2 separate regions of the Homo sapiens genome follow, and region 1 is linked to region 2. Evidence: promoter capture Hi-C in human tissues and cell types (Jung and others, 2019). All regions are on one chromosome and are shown on one strand. Each heading gives the region's core, a stretch centred on a gene start or on the middle of the fragment in contact. The rest is flanking DNA. Distances are from core to core; before and after follow the strand shown. Region 1 overlaps RAPH1 (Ras association (RalGDS/AF-6) and pleckstrin homology domains 1). Region 2 holds the start of ABI2 (abl interactor 2).

What was found. The method cuts DNA at HindIII sites, captures the fragments that hold promoters and counts their contacts. A contact is called where the count stands out against the background at its distance.
Region 1: a fragment that was not itself captured here is called in contact with the fragment with the promoter of ABI2 in region 2 in 1 of the 25 tissues and cell types used here (stomach).

The regions. Positions count from the first base shown.
Region 1 is chr2:203,457,908-203,461,315 of GRCh38, forward strand. It overlaps RAPH1 (Ras association (RalGDS/AF-6) and pleckstrin homology domains 1), which reads right to left. Exons shown (of 14, transcript NM_213589.3): 6 at 3,342-3,408; 7 at 2,000-2,121. Among named protein-coding and RNA genes, the nearest start is that of RAPH1, 76 kb to the right of the region's middle. The HindIII fragment of the contact is 4,574 bases long and covers 1-3,408 here.
Region 2 is chr2:203,327,003-203,330,246 of GRCh38, forward strand. It overlaps ABI2 (abl interactor 2), which reads left to right and starts at 1,392. Exons shown (of 12, transcript NM_001375670.1): 1 at 1,392-1,629. The coding sequence starts at 1,513. RefSeq lists an enhancer at 279-1,249 and silencers at 1,051-1,390, 1,147-1,334, 1,611-1,960. The HindIII fragment of the contact is 25,150 bases long and covers 1-3,244 here.

The DNA of each region.
Region 1 (3,408 bases), core at 212-2,711, 130 kb after region 2:
CGTTAGAGGATCTGAAAGGTTTAGAAATTCATAAGTACAACAAGTAAGGCAAATTTCCTTAAAATATACTGATCTAGGTGCAGAAAATTTATGTTCTGGCTTTTTAAGAAGAAATCCCATATTCTCTGGGACTCATTTATTAATAATCTCATTTACTTGACTCAACTAAAAATCTGAATTCTGGCTGGGTGCAGTGGCTCACACCTGTAATCCCAGCACTCTGGGAGGCCAAGGCGGGTGGATCACGAGGTCAGAAGTTCAAGACCAGCCTGACCAACACGGTGAAACCCCGTCTCTACTAAAAATACAAAATTAGCCAGGTGTGGCAGCACGCACCTGTAGTCCCAGCTATGCAGGAGGCTGAGGTAGGAGAATCGCTTGGAGGCGGAGGTTGCAGTGAGCCAAGATCACGCCACTGACTCCAGCCTGGGCAACAGAGCGAGACTCCATCTCAAAAAAAAACAAAAAACAAACAAACAAAAAAATCAAACTGAAGTCTACTCATTAGTACACAGTCATCCCTTGTTGTCCATAGGAGATTGATTCTAGGATCTCCCCTGTATACCAAAATCTGCTGATGCTTAAAGTCACTTATAAAAATGGGGTCACATTTGCATATAACCTATGCACATTCTCCCTTGTACTTTAAATAATCTCTAGATTACTTACAATACCTAATACAATGCCTACCTATCATTTAATTTGCATGAATTCAATGCAGTACTCAAGCGTGGCATATTCAAGTTTTGTTTTTTAGAACCTGGAATTATTTTTCTGAATATTTTAGATCTGCAGTTGTGCAAATCCACAGATGCAGAACCCATGGATATAGAGGGCTGACTGTACTTCTTTTTCTTTTTCTCTTTTTTTTTTTGGAGACGGAGTCTCACTGTCACCCAGGCTGGAGTGCAGTGGCACAATCTCGGCTCAGTGCAAGCTCCGACTCCCGGATTCACACCATTCTCCTGCCTCAGCCTCCCAAGTAGCTGGGACTACAGGCGCCCGACACCACGCCCGGCTAATTTTTTGTATTTTTAGTAGAGACAGGGTTTCACCGTGTTAGCCAGGATGGTCTCGATCTCCTGACCCTGTGATCCATCCACCTCAGACTCCCAAAGTGCTGGGCTAATTTTTTGTATTTTTAGTAGAGACGGGGTTTCACCGTGTTAGCCAGGATGGTCTCGATCTCCTGACCTTGTGATCAGTCCACCTCAGCCTCCCAAAGTGCTGGGATTACAGGAGTGAGCCATTGCGCCTGGCCTGTAATTATTTTTCATAACTGCCTACAAAAAGATCTGTTGATACCCCCAAATATGTATTCTTCACTAAAACATCCAGAAAAGATGTGTCATGGTTATGCCATTTGAAGCATAACTATGCAATATCTTTAACACTGCTGCTATTTTTCTTCATTACTACTTTTTATTGTGGAGTTGTTTTCCCTCACCTACTGAATTTTGTAAAATGTCTAGGTATTGGGAAGTATTAACTCAAACATTATTTTGGAATAAGGAAAGATGTCAAATAAATCAAAGTATGTTTATTAGAATGTAAAGCCATTTGTAATCAAGGTTACTGGGATGTTTAAAAAGTAATTCCAAAAGAAGTGTCAACTGGATAAATGGCTGGAGTAGAGAAGTACTTTTCTTTGATGAGATGACAAACTCACCAAATAAACAGCTGGGTTCAACACAGCTCTGGATTACAGAGCCAAAAGACCTGGTAACTCACTAGAGCTATACTTCTGCTTCCAAAACGGCTCACCCCATCTGGTTCTGGAGGACTGGGAACCTCTTTAGGGCCTAACACGTGGGCACCAGCTGACTTTCCACCTCAGCAGCAGCAGCAGCAGCAGTAGTAGATGATGCTCCTATAGGATTTTGCAGGTATATCGCTCCAACCAGGTGTTTACCAGTCTTTTAACTCTAACTTAGCAGTAATCGAATAAAATAGGAGACATATTTACAAATCCTGACCTCTGTAAGTTGTTTGGTCTTACCTGTGGGTTTTTGAAAAGTGCATATTTTTCTATACGCTCCATAAATATAAGCTTGTTTTGGCTATCTCTTGTCCAATTAAGAAGATTTTCAACCAAGTTTTCATGGTCTTCAAAGATTCTCTCTGTCCCAAAATAAAATATCCGTATTTTGTTAGTATTCATTAGAGTTGCATGAAAGACATGAAACTTTGTGAAGTAGTTAACCTCAGAACCACATAATCTTAACCGACATTTTAGCACCTAAAAATTATCTGGTATTCCCTAATTTTTCAAACAAAGAAATATGCCTTAATTATGTTAATGACATAACCAAGGTCACACAGCTGATATATGGAAGAACTAGGACTAGAATCTAGGCTTTCTGACTTGCAGGACACCATTCTTCAGTCTTAAACATTTTCCCATCCCACCCTTAAAAATAAAACATTAGTTACATCTTATAAGTTTCGATATCAAGTATTTCCTATTTAGTTCTTGGCATTTAAAACATTTCCAAGATGATTTCTTCTTTGATCCATGACTGTTGTTTAATCTTAAACATATATGTATTTTCTAATTTCCAAATTAGAAATGAAAGAACATGTCCTGTATACTGAACATATGTTAAAGAACACGTTCTAGATATGGATTCTTTGAAATTTGTTAATGTGCTTTGTTTCCCGAGTCAAATGCTGGTTTAAAGACTTCAGTACAAATTCAAGTTAACATAATAATTTTTAGTAAATGCATCAGTCTATCCAGTTCTTATTTGAAAAAAAAAAAACTATTTTGTTACCTTTTAAAAAAACTTTGTTTTAGCCATTATAAAATCTGAAGTGAATTGGAAATGATCTTGTATTCAAAGAACTCTTAAAACACTTCAGAAAAAAATAATGTAAAGAAGCCAAATTATGAAAGGTAATTTTATCGAAAAAATATATAAAGATGAGGCCAGGCGTGGTGGTTCACGCCTGTAATCCCAGCACTTTGGGAGGCCAAGGCAGGTGGATCACAAGGTCAGGAGATCAAGACCATCCTGGCCAACAGGTGAAACCCCATCTCTACTAAAAAATACAAAATATTAGCCAGGCGTGGTGGTGCACGCCTGTAGTCCCAGCTACTCAGGAGGCTGAGGCAGGATAATTGCTTGAACCCAGGAGGCAGAGGCTGCAGTGACCCGAGATCGTGCCATTGCACTTCAGTCTAGGTGACAGAGCGAGACTCCATCCCCCAAAAAATTAAAATAAAATAAAATAAAAACATATATATATATATAAAGATAACTCAAAATGTTTTTATCAGCATGAAAACTGATGAAATTACACAAAAATTAGAAAGCAATTAAAGCAATGATATTACTAACCCATTTGTAATTCAGAAACGGTTTCTACCAGTGACCAGTCTAAACTATAACCGCAGTGGGATTTGTC
Region 2 (3,244 bases), core at 142-2,641:
TTTCACTGTGTTAGCCAGGATGGTCTCGATCTCCTGACCTCGTGATCCGCCCGCCTCGGCCTCCCAAAGTGCTGGGATTACAGGCGTGAACCACCGCGCCCGTCCTAAAGTGATTTTTTTTTGAAAGTATAAGTTTCCTCATCATCTGAATGAAAAAAATTCACTGTAGGAGGGCCAAGAGATCACCAGATTAAGAAAAGTGTTGAAACAATGGATCTTGTTCTAACTACACAAGTCTAAGATGGTACTGCCTGGAATCAACTTTGATTTTCCACAGCACAAATAAAGGTCATGGCTTCATATCTCAGCAATGGTCAGGAGTTTTAGTTTTTCCAGATTACATTGTGTGGGGTAGTCTGATTTAGGAAAACAAGACACAGTATCTGGAGAATAAAAACAGAATTATAACTCTGCAAGAGGAAAATTATCTGCCTTGAATTTTTGTAGCACTTAATGTTTTTTCAAGGTATTTTCACAATAAACGTTGATTTTATCTATGTAACAGCCCTGTGAAGAAGGCAATTACTACTAGCAAAATCGTTTTCAAAATTTTAAATACTGAATCCATGAATAGGAAAAAGGACAGCGAAGTTGATAGCATTAGAGAAATGACAGAAAAGGTTATGAGTGAGGAAGCGAATCATAGAAATGGCAAACATAAAAAGCTGAGGCCCACGGCACCGCAAACCAGGAGAGAAAGGGGCTAATCTGGCAGGGGAGAACAGCGTTAGTGGGGAAGTGCAAAGAGGCAGGGGCGCAGGAAAGCTGGGGTTAGGAAACTGCAATTCACTGCAACAAAGAGGATGAGGTCAAATCTGAGAAAAATGAAGTCAGGTGGCATTGAAAGCTGCGTGGAAGTTTTATTCCTGCCCTGTTGAGGTGTGATCTTTCACAGAGGAGGGTCCCAAGAGTGGAGGCTGTGCCCTCCTTCGGCCTCCCGTCAGCAGCAGAGGGAGAAAAGCCTCGAGAAGTTCCCTAGGCCGATGACCTCCATGGGGACGGAGCCGAGATGAGTCCCGGAGGGAGCCGGCAGGAAGCCAGCTGAGCAGGGTGGTGTGTTCCCGCCGGGCTAACAAAGGCCGCCGGGAGGTGGGGGCTTCTCCAGCCGCTCCAGCGGCGGGCGGGCGGCGGAAGGGTTAACTGCACCACCAACTCCCGCGCGCATCCCGGCCCCTACCCCCGCCGTCGCTAGGAGACGCCGGAAGTGGGGGAGGGGCCGGCGGCGCGGGCGAGGGTGGGAATCTTTTTCGGGCTCCCGGGGGCGGAGGGAAGGGAGCGCGCGTGCGCGCGCCCGGCCGGCCGTCGCCGCGGTGACCGTCCTCGGAGTCCGTCGGCTCGCGCCCCGCCCCCGTCGCCCCCTCCCCTGTCGCGCGCTGGGGCTGTTTCTCGCTCCTTCCGAGTTACCGCCGCCGTCGCCGCCGCTCCTCCTCTCCCGGTCCTGGGTTTCCTTGGCGCTGCGGCCGCCGCTCCCTCTGCGACCTGTATGAGGAGGAGGAGGAGGAGGATGTGAAGATGGCGGAGCTGCAGATGCTGCTGGAAGAGGAAATCCCGGGGGGCCGCCGGGCCCTCTTCGACAGCTACACAAATCTGGAACGGGTGGCCGATTACTGCGAGAACAACTACATACAGGTGCGAAGCATCCCCAGCTGGGCCGCGTCGGGGACCCCCCCGCCGGGGGCCGCGCGCCTCGGGGCGTGGGGCCGAGGCCGCCTCGGGGACACGGCCCAGCGGAGCCCCCGATGGGGGTGGGGAGCTGGGTGAGGGCTGGGGCTGGTGAATGGGTGGGAATTCTCCGGCTGGAGAAACTGCATTTTAAAAACCTTTAAAAAAGCGGTGAAGCAGTTCTCGGCGTGGTGCGTGTGTCGCGTCCCGCCTCCTCGCCGCTCCCGCCCTCGGCCGCCCCCGCACTCCGCGCCGGTCAGCGTTCCGGATGGCGGAGGGGGCGGAGAGTGGCATTTTCTGTTTGACGGAATCCTGCTCCCCACCTTAGGGTAGGGGTGTCGCGGGTGTTGACGGGTTACCTCCATCCCCCAAATTCTGGATGATTTTTAAGGGGTTATCTTGCTGCAGAGTGAAGTGCTTCAGGCTTCAGTTTTCTGTTCCTGTGAATGCTTCAGAAACCCTTTCTTAATATTTTATGTTCTAAAGGGGATACGGTAGAAGAGCAGCAGTTTCTTGTTGGAAGTTAATGCCATTTTTTTCCCTATGGAGAAGGATGATGAGCTGATTCCCCCCTCCCTCCTAGTTCTGTTAGAATAGGCAGTTTTCCTGGGGGTGGGAGGAGGACAGACTATGACTGTTTCTTAGAGAGAATTGGGAAGATGAACCTCCTGGTTTAATTTTTTTTTTTTTTTTTTTTTTTTACCGTGATGGATCGTTTGGCTCAAGGGCTGATAGTGGTAGGGGCGTGTGTATGGAGGCGGGGGATACCGGATGGTATGAGATCCAGCTGCTCCTGGATGAAGCAAAATATTCTGTGGATTAAAAAAATCCTTCTTTAAAAATTACTTGAAAGGATAGCAGGTTAAAAGGCACAGTTTGCAAAATCTAAAATCTTTTGCTTTTTTTTTTATGGTTATTTTGAATTATGGGTTCTGCCTCCATTTTTTTTCTTTCCCGTTTAAATTCTCTTGGGATAAAGATGGAAATGGAAGCAATATGTTAAACTGTTTCTTCACAGTCTTTTTTTTTTTCCTTTTTTCTTGCTCCCACCTCCATCTCTCCAGGGATCCTTCTTTTTTCTTTTCTTTTTGAGACACAACCTCGTTCTGTAGTCCAGGTTGGAGTGCAGTGGCGCGATCTCGGCTCACTGAAACCTCGGCCTCCTAGGTTTGAGCAATTCTCATGCTTCAGCTTCCCGAGTAGCTGGGACTACAGGCGCCCGCCACCACAGCCGGCTAATTTTTGTATTTTTAGTAAAGATGGGGTTTCACCATGTTGACCAGACTGGTCTCGAACTCCTGACTTCAAGTCATCCACCCACCTCGGCCTCCCAAAGTGCTGGGATTATAGGCGTGAGGCACCTTTCTTAACATTAGCTATATAGGAAAGCATTTTCATGTCTTAGTGTAAATTTTAAAAAACAGGTGTTACAATTTTATAGGTTCATAAATTTTGTAATGGCCACATTGTTGATCGCGGAAGTGAGATTTTGTTTGATTAGACATACTGTTATCTTGTAGACAACATTTGTATTTGAGAATGACCCGAACCACTGTATAAACCTGTTCCTTCGAAAGAGGCA